Regions from separate parts of the Homo sapiens genome. Here region 2 is linked to region 1. Evidence: promoter capture Hi-C in human tissues and cell types (Jung and others, 2019). All regions are on one chromosome and are shown on one strand. Each heading gives the region's core, a stretch centred on a gene start or on the middle of the fragment in contact. The rest is flanking DNA. Distances are from core to core; before and after follow the strand shown. Region 1 holds the start of RNF152 (ring finger protein 152). Region 2 overlaps ZCCHC2 (zinc finger CCHC-type containing 2).

Region 1 (4,503 bases), core at 600-3,099:
AGGAAGCAGGCATTGGAGGCAGAGATCAGCCTAATAGCCTCTAGGGATCCTCCAGCCTAAAGCTAAACACATCTGAGGGTGGGGAGCCTCCTTCTTATATAAAAAAAATTAAGCATCAATGGACACTTTATTATGATTTATTACTGTACACAATTTAAAACCACAATGAAACCTAACACTGCACTGTGGCTATCTTTGTTCTTGGACGTGCATTTACATGGGCAGGCTACTGTTTTGCCATGTGGAATTTTGTGTGCGAAGTGTTTATTCTTTCTATTAAAAAAAAAACCACACCCTTGTTTCTATTGCATTATTACATTCCCTATTATCCCATCACATGTTTTTTCTTCTTGCAGCAACACAGTACACACCCTGTACTATTGCTGACATAAAAATTACTTGTCAAAAATACCTCTATCTTAGCACCACATTACTCATCTGATCTTTGCAAAGCACTGGCCTTTGTTTCACCTGGGACTAGATAACTCAACTGCTTTTACTAGTGACTCCTGAATGCTTGTAGTAGAAGGATAAATGCTAGTGTCACCTATGTTTTTAAAGTCACCTTCCAAAACAAAACTACATTGGAGGTGAATAATAAATCTTTCAAGTTTTTAACTTCATTTTTCAAGGGATTTGGAGGAAAATGGTGAAGAGAGAATCTGTCACAGATACCAAGGTGTTACTGCAATGTAAAAGAGAGTAGACCAGGAGCCTTTGGCCCTCAGCAATCTGTCTTCCTACAAGAAAAATCGAAAGCCCATTTCCATAACCATTCTTATTCCCTGCTACTAGTGTAGGATGCGCAGGACTCTGCCCTCTAGCAGAAAATGCTAATGCCGGAGTGTCCTGCTAAGTCTGAAGGTTACGTTTTTTCATTGCACTCTTATCAAGATAACCCCAGATCTGGCTAGGCTGACATCAAAACAGAACTATCCTTGGAAAGAAAAGAACAGGCCAGAGTTTTTGGAAAAGCCCCAATAACCTAAAGATAAAATCCAGAATGAGAGTCTACTGGTTCATGGCTATCTAAATGGAAACTTCACTCAAGCTGTTTTCTCTGTTCTCTTTCTGCTGCCCCCAACAGCCCTCCCTTCCACCTCCCAGTACTCACTGCTAGCATGTCTCTCTTAATATTGCAAACACTATTACAATGAAGGAACAGAAGAAAGACAGTATTTCATACGAAGGTCACTGCATTTGACCGGTGCTCAATTAGAGCACTGGGCAAAAGTACAATCAGCCTTCCAATGATACCTTTTCAACAAAGGATACCCCACCTCTAGACTGAAGCCTAAATCTATTACTACAGATAAGAAAGCAGGCATCTATGGAAACCTAACATTCAGATACAACTGCCTGTGTATGAATTATATCAAAATTCCCATGAAAGGAAACCAGGTGGGATTTCTACAATCCCAAATTCACCCTGCACCTACCTCCAATGGCTTCTTCAAAGGGAAGGTATAAAGTCATTTGCAATTTATTTCTTTGAACCAGGAGTTTTAGCAGCCCCCACACCTTCTCACAGATAGGAACGATGTTGATGCAGAAACCACCCAAACAGCCCTGTGCCAGCACTGTCGGCCCAAATGACCCAGAGACACCCAGGCGCTACCCAGATCGTGGGGGGTTACCTGTATCTGTCACCGAGTCTCTTTCACCCCTTCTGCGTGATGACATCAAGTGGAAATGGTACACGTTTAGGAGGCAAGAGGCTGACAGGCAGGAAACACAATTGAGACTGAGCTTTCTTCAGCCTGCAGTGAAATACATGCAGGAAGGGTTAGATACGCGCCGCGGAGAAGGAAATCCAAGCGCCCTCCTGGGCAGACGGGGCTGGAGCGGGTGCACTAGGGAGGTGGAGCAAGGCAGATGAGGTGTGGAGGGCTGGCGGCCGAGAAGGGGGCGTCACGGCTCCTAATTGTCTCTACAGGATAAATAACCACCTCCCCCCTCCTCCGCAGTCTCCCCCGCCCACGAGTTCCCCTCTGGTGGCAGAGCGCCTACTAGCAACAGTAAGCCCTAGGAAAGAAAGAAATCGGAGCAGGTGGGGAATAACATCTTGGGGCAAAGACACACTGGCAAAATCTACCAGGTAACCCGGTCATATGGGAATGCGGGGCGCCTAGTCAGCCGCGCAGACAGGCACACAGCGCGGCAATCCCGAGCATCTTTCTTTCGTTTGCCCCTGTCCGCCACCTCATCAAGTCACCGCCACCTCATCAAGTCACCGTCACCTCATCAAGTCACCGTCACTCTGCTTTGGCGATTTCTCTACTCTCTCCAGACCCAGGCAGCGCTCCCCAAGCCATGCCCCGACCCCAGGCGGGATTGGGGACCGCCGCTTCCCGAGCAGCGCCCCACGAGTCCAGCTGGCTTTGTCCTGCCGCTGTCCTTCCAGGAGCAAGCGCCCCAGGCGCGTGTGTCTGCACAAAAGACCCCCAACATCTGGCCCTTCACAGCGCTCTCTAATCCCGGGAGGGGCCCTGGGGCAACTTCTAGGGCTGGAGAAGGCGCGAGACAAGGGGACCGGGAGAAGATGAGCCGGGGTGTGTGCGGGCCGGGGGCGCAACTGGGGCGGGCGCGCGCGCACGTGCACACCCAGGGGCGCGCGCGGCGCGGGCACGAGGAAAGCTCCCTCGGACCGGAGCTCCAGGGGGCATCCGAGGACTCGGCCGAGCAGCCGACAGCGCCGCTCCCCGCCGCGGCCGCCCGCCCAACTCCGCCAGCTCTCAGGAGACACGCAACTCCCGGGACCACCTCCCCCGTGCCCCGCCAGACCCCGCGCTCCCCTCCCCGGGACCCTGCGGCCCCGCCACCCCCTCCGCGGTCCAGAAGATCTCCCCAGTTACAGCAGGCGGCAGCTGCCCTTTCCCGCTTCCACGGCTTCGGCGCGGCCGCCGTAGGGGCGCAGACATCCCTGCGCACCCCTCTGTCCGCCCCCGATCCGGAGCCGGCAGAGCAGAGAAACAAACCGAAACTCACTGACCTTTCTCCGCGGCGGGCTCGGGTGCTCGCTACAGAGGCGGCGGCGGCGGCGACAGCATCGCCGGGTGGTCCCGGCGCGCCCGCTCCTTTCAGCCAGACTCGCGCCCCGGGCCGGCGGCCGCCGCTCCTCCGGCCGAGAGCCACGGGGCGGACGCTGACAGCGCGGCGGCGGCGCCTGCAGCCCCAGCACCCGGCCCGGCCCTTCGGGCGGCACCCCCACCTGCCCGGCCGCCCTCCGCGTTCGCGGTCGGACACCGCCGCCAGGCGCTCGGCACCGAGCGAGAGCTTTTTGTGTCACTGAGACTCCGGCACCAAAGGGGGTGGGGGGAGAGGCTGGGCTCCGCTCCCCGCGGCACCGCCCTCCCCGGCGGCTCCACCCCCTCCTCCCCGCCCACAGCCCGGCGGGCCCGGGACTTCTCTCCGTCAGTCCCGAATCGCCCACCTCCCCCGGGGTGAGGGGCTGCCTACCCTCTCTCGCGCGCTCCCTCGGCTTTGCCCCCAGTGCCTACCCTCGGCCAGGACCTCGACGCCGTCTCTCTACCGTGCAAAAGCGGGACCTGAGCTGGCGGCAGGTGTGAAAGGAGGCCTGGGCAGCCGGGAGGAGGGGCAGGGCCGGGAAGGGGGCCGGGGCCGCGGTGGGTGGGTTGGGGGGTGCCCAGTCTGTGCCTAGGACCCGGACAGCGAGAGGGAGGAGCTGAGATCATCAGGTTTCCAGAAGCTGCCCTGCATCCTCGTCACCGGATACTTTTTGGCTGCCCCTAAAAGTTCACGTAGTCCAGCCAGGGTGGGGCCCCGCTTTCCAAAGAGGCCCGAATGGACACCCCACTACTTGAATCCCTCGAATGGGGGACAAGAAGCAGGGGAGTAAAGAGATGCAAGTCCTAGGGGTTATATGGAAGCGCGAACCCCACGGAACCTCGGGGCCCACCCTATTCCACACCTTAAAACCTAACTTCGACCTAGGGAGGTGCTTAGAATGTCTTGTTCCCCGGAGAAAATCTCCCGCCTCTTGAGTTAACTGCGAAATAGGAGAATGGAGGAGAAAGGTCCTTGGTAGAAGATAGTTCCATGCCCTTTGGTGCCTTTTTAAAGGATTTCTCTGCAGCATGAAAACCTAAAACTCTCTTCTTGAGATGAAGTTCAGCCTGCGGACGTTACCCGGTCCCCAGCAGCAGGGCTCAGTTGAGTGTGATCCCCACGGATTCCAGCGGCACTTGCTGCCTTTCCCCACTGCTGGAGTGGAGCCGTCTTTGTCTTAAGGTCCGTAGTATCCGCAAGGAAAGAGTCCCCATTTTCACTCCCCCAAGTAGCTTATTGAAATGCTTCTGCCAAGATTTCTTTTTTTACTTTTTCTGTTTTTTTTTTTTTGAAGATGGACTCTCGCTCTGTCACCCAGGCTGGAGTGCAGTGGCGCGATCTCAGCTCACTGAAACCTCCAACTTCCGGGTTCAAGCGATTCTCCTGCCTCAGCCTTCCAAGTAGCTGGGATTACAGGCCCGCACCACCACGTCC
Region 2 (4,109 bases), core at 571-3,070, 640 kb after region 1:
GGCCCAGATGGCATCCCTAGACCCCTCTCCTCTCTCCACGTGGTCCATCAAGTGCGGCTGCCAGGAGAAGTGCATGTCTCATGTGGTGTCTCAGGACTCCAAGCCCAAGTGTCCAGGAGGCCCAGGGCTGAGGCTTCCCAGGACCTAACTTTAGAAGAGCATCACCACCAGCACATTCTAAAGCCAGCCTAGATCCACTGGGTGGGGAATTGGTTCCACTTTTCAGCGGGAGGAATATTAAATAATTTTTAGCTACCTTTAATCCGCCACGGAAGCTTAATAGAATGTTGTTATATATTGCTGTTAATTTTCTAAGTCTCATTTGACAATTGGGAAAACTTCAGAAGAAGTTAGTGACTTTGGTTTTAAAAAATAAAAAACTCTTACTGCTGTGTTATTATATTTGGAATATCTTGGATTTTTAAATTTATAGTCTATATCGAGGGACTACAAGAACCATGTAGAATATTGTTAGACGAACTAAAACTCCATCTATGACCTTTGTTCTAATGGTATGTTTTCAGAGAAGAGTTTTTTAGGATGTCCAGCTACTTGGCTGTTTCACAAGGTCCCCACAGTTAAGAAATCTCAAGTATGTAATTGTGATGGGTCTACGTGTGATCTGTGGCAAAACCATCTAGACCACCTGAACCACATGCCGTGTAGGTTTGTGCTAACCAGTAGCTCTTGAGGCAAGCGATAGGACAGAAGAAGCTCTGCCTCAGGCGAGTTAAGAAAGGAGAATGCACTCCTACTAAAGTTCTTTGTATGCTTGTGCGTATTTTTGCAGGTTTAGAATCTTTAAACCCTGCTTTCTTGATACAAACAGAGAAAAATCCACTTTTCTCGTGGTCCTGACACTTTTCTCCAACTAGTCTTTGTAAAATACTGATTCTGGCATTTCATCTGTTCTGCATTTTCATGGGAATCTGAACTTAACAGATAAAGTGGGTGCCATTCCTCTTTATATGATTCCATTAAAGAAGGAGTTCTCAGATTTTATGCTACCCATCCCCCTAAGGAAAGTAAAGAGGGAGTGCAGGGCAGACAGCATCGCCGAGCAGCCACCCACCATTGGGGCTGCCGATTCTCATCTCCAGCTCATGCAGCGTTACATGAGTGAGTTTAGTAATAGCTTCTAAACATAGTCTACGTGATTTTATAGCATTGATACATGCTGAGACTTGGAGGAGAAAATAAACATTTAATTAGTAGATATATCATGGGTTGATGAACTTAGGACTTTGGATAGAAACTCAAACTTCATTTTTCTCCCTAGGTTATTAAACAGGAGGTTACTTGGTTAAATTGGGTTCATAAAGTTAACTTCAGACTTCAAAAATGTGATTTTGATTGTGAAGCAAACTACTTTCATACAGTTGCTTCAATTTAATGTTTGTGGAGGCAGTGTGATCATTTCCATTTTTAGTTTTTATTGTGATATAAAATATATAGCATAAAATTCTCATTTTCTCCTTTTTAGTGTACGGTTCAGTAGCATTAAGTACGTTCCCGTTGTCATGAGTCATCACCTCTGTCTCCAAACATTCTATCATCCCAAACAGAAATGCTATACCCATTTAAAAAATAACACCCTATTCCCTCCAGTACCTGGTAACTACTATTCTACTTTTTTTGTTTGCTTTAGAGACAGGGTCTTGCCCTGTTGCCCAGGCTGAAGTGCAGTGGCGCAGTCATGGGTCACTGCAGCCTTGAACTCCTGGGCCCAAGCAGTCCTCCCATCTAACGAGGACTACAGGCACATACCACCACTTCTGGCTAACAAAAAAAAAAAATTCTTTTGTAGCGATAGGATCGTGCAGTGTCGCCCAGTCTGTCTTGAAATACTTGCCTTATGTGATCCTCCCACCTTGGCCTCCCAAAGTGCTGGGATTGCAGGCGTGAGCTACCACACCTAGCCACTATTCTACTTTCTTTATCAACTTGACTATTCTAGGTATCTCATATAAGTGGAATCATGCTGTATTTGTTCTTTTGTGTCTGGCTTATTTCACCTAGCATACTCTCTTTGGGATTCATCTAAATCCTATTATGTATCAGAATTGCATTCCTTTTTAAGGCTGAATCATAGGTAATTGGATGTGTACACCATATTTTGTTTATCTGTTCATCCATTGATGGGTTTTGAGTTTACACCTTGTGGCTATTGTGAATAACTGCTATGAACACTGATGTACAGATTATGTTTGCATTTCTGCTTTCAGTTCTTTTGGGTGTATCTTAGAAGTGGAATTGCTGGGTCATAAAATAATTCTGTGTTTAATATTTTGAGGAACTGCCTGACTGTCTTCAACAGTAGCTATACTATTTTTGTTTCCACCATCAATGTGTAAGGGTTCCATTTTCTTCATGTCCTTGCCAACACTGTCTTTTTTAATAATAGTCATCCTAATGGGTATAAAGTGGTATCTTCTTATGCATCTCACTAATGAAAACATTTTTTTCATATTTTGCATTAGTTTACATTTGAAAGTATTGCTTTAAATTTGTGAACTATATATGAGCAATGTAGAGAAATATTTCGCTTTAAGCAATGGTTGACTGGCCAGGTACAATGACTCACACCTGTAATTCCAGCACTTTGGGATGCCGAGTTGAGAGGATCACTTGAAGCCGGGAATTTGAGGCTGCAGTGAGCTATGATCATGCCGGTGTACTTCAGTCTGGGCAACAGAGAGAGACCCTGTCTCAAAAAAAAAAAAAAAAAGAAAGAATTGGTTAACCTATTCACCCAAGCTTCTTCCAGTTAACACAACTATTTGAGAGGATTATATAGCACTTTATTTTCTTTGTTTTTTAAAGTATTTACAGCAATATTAAAATTTTTGAGAAGCAGAATCTCTCGTGGGTAAATGTGGTTTTACATTTTTTAATAAAATATATGGTCTGGGTTAGGATATGTATGGTTTTGTTATTAAAATAATTCATATCTGCATTTTTAAAAAACCAGTCGCATTGAAAATTGGTAAAGGCTATCAGGCCAAGTGTTTCAGAAGTTGGATGTTGACTGAAGAGGTCTGTACTCTCCTTATTAAATGGTTTTAGGTAGACAGTCTTTGTTTCCTTGGGTTTCTAAATAAAGGAAGACAGACTAGAAGGCAGAAGTTTAGCTCCCAAAAGTATATAATGTGCTCTGTTCTCATAAACAGAGCAATTCATACTTACTGTCGGGTCGGGATGTGTGATTAGACAGCAGAACAAAATATTTTTAAATTGAGATTTGTGGGGAGCTTAGGGTCTTCTATTTGCCTAATTTTTTACAGAAAAAAATATTAATGTATGTTTACTGCAGATTTGTAAAATCATAATTGATTCTTAAAACCAAGTTGATTTTGATATGAGTAGTGTTTTGAGATTCTGCACATAAAGGGAGGGGATAAGGTGCAAGCTGTAATAAAAAACTGTCATAAGGCTATTTATTTACTTACTTAATATGATGTTGTAACAGTTTGTATGTGACAGTGCTTGATTTCTGGCGAGCTGTTTGTAAGTTTGGCATCACCTTTATTACTCCAAGCATCGGATCTAGGAGTCAAAGTTACCCCGGTTCACTAGTGATTGGCTGAGCAAACTCAGTTAGGTTTAGAGCACCCAGTTGCTGTTAGATGACTGAACCTTAATGGTAAACTCCCTGCCTGTACATATTCTTGTTTAGAAATCCTTGGCATGTATTGATGATACCTTTCATAAGACTTTTTCCTAATAAAGCATCTTTTTAGACTGTTATTAAAACCAAACAATGAATAAAAATGGTGTAGTGATTCTTGTAAAAAGTACACATGCCGTTCCCTATGGAGGATTAGTGTAAAGGGCACCATTTGTTATGTGTTCCTTTGATTTGGATTCAGAATTGACATCATTGGCAACTCTGTATATTATTAAGCAATTTCCTGTGTCCCAAGAAAGCTAGGACAGTCAATAATTAATAGAGTGCTCATCTTCTGCTTGCGGCTCTCACACTGTGCCTTTGTGCCCATAGTGTGCAGTCACCTATTGGACCTCTAAAAATTGCCACTAAAATGGTTGTTAGTAAAATGAGAAGACCTAAATCTGTGATTATTACTCTTAGTCCATGGTTTAAGTTAACG

The links. The method cuts DNA at HindIII sites, captures the fragments that hold promoters and counts their contacts. A contact is called where the count stands out against the background at its distance.
Region 2: a fragment that was not itself captured here is called in contact with the fragment with the promoter of RNF152 in region 1 in 1 of the 25 tissues and cell types used here (liver).

Annotation. Positions count from the first base shown.
Region 1 is chr18:61,891,158-61,895,660 of GRCh38, forward strand. RNF152 (ring finger protein 152) reads right to left here and starts at 1,850. Exons shown (of 2, transcript NM_173557.3): 1 at 1,638-1,850. LOC105372159 (a long non-coding RNA gene) reads left to right here and starts at 3,396. Exons shown (of 3, transcript XR_935562.3): 1 at 3,396-3,563. RefSeq lists silencers at 3,036-3,185, 3,256-3,405. The HindIII fragment of the contact is 14,100 bases long and covers 1-4,503 here.
Region 2 is chr18:62,535,550-62,539,658 of GRCh38, forward strand. The region is part of intron 1 of ZCCHC2 (zinc finger CCHC-type containing 2); the gene reads left to right. Among named protein-coding and RNA genes, the nearest start is that of ZCCHC2, 15 kb to the left of the region's middle. The HindIII fragment of the contact is 3,955 bases long and covers 1-3,798 here.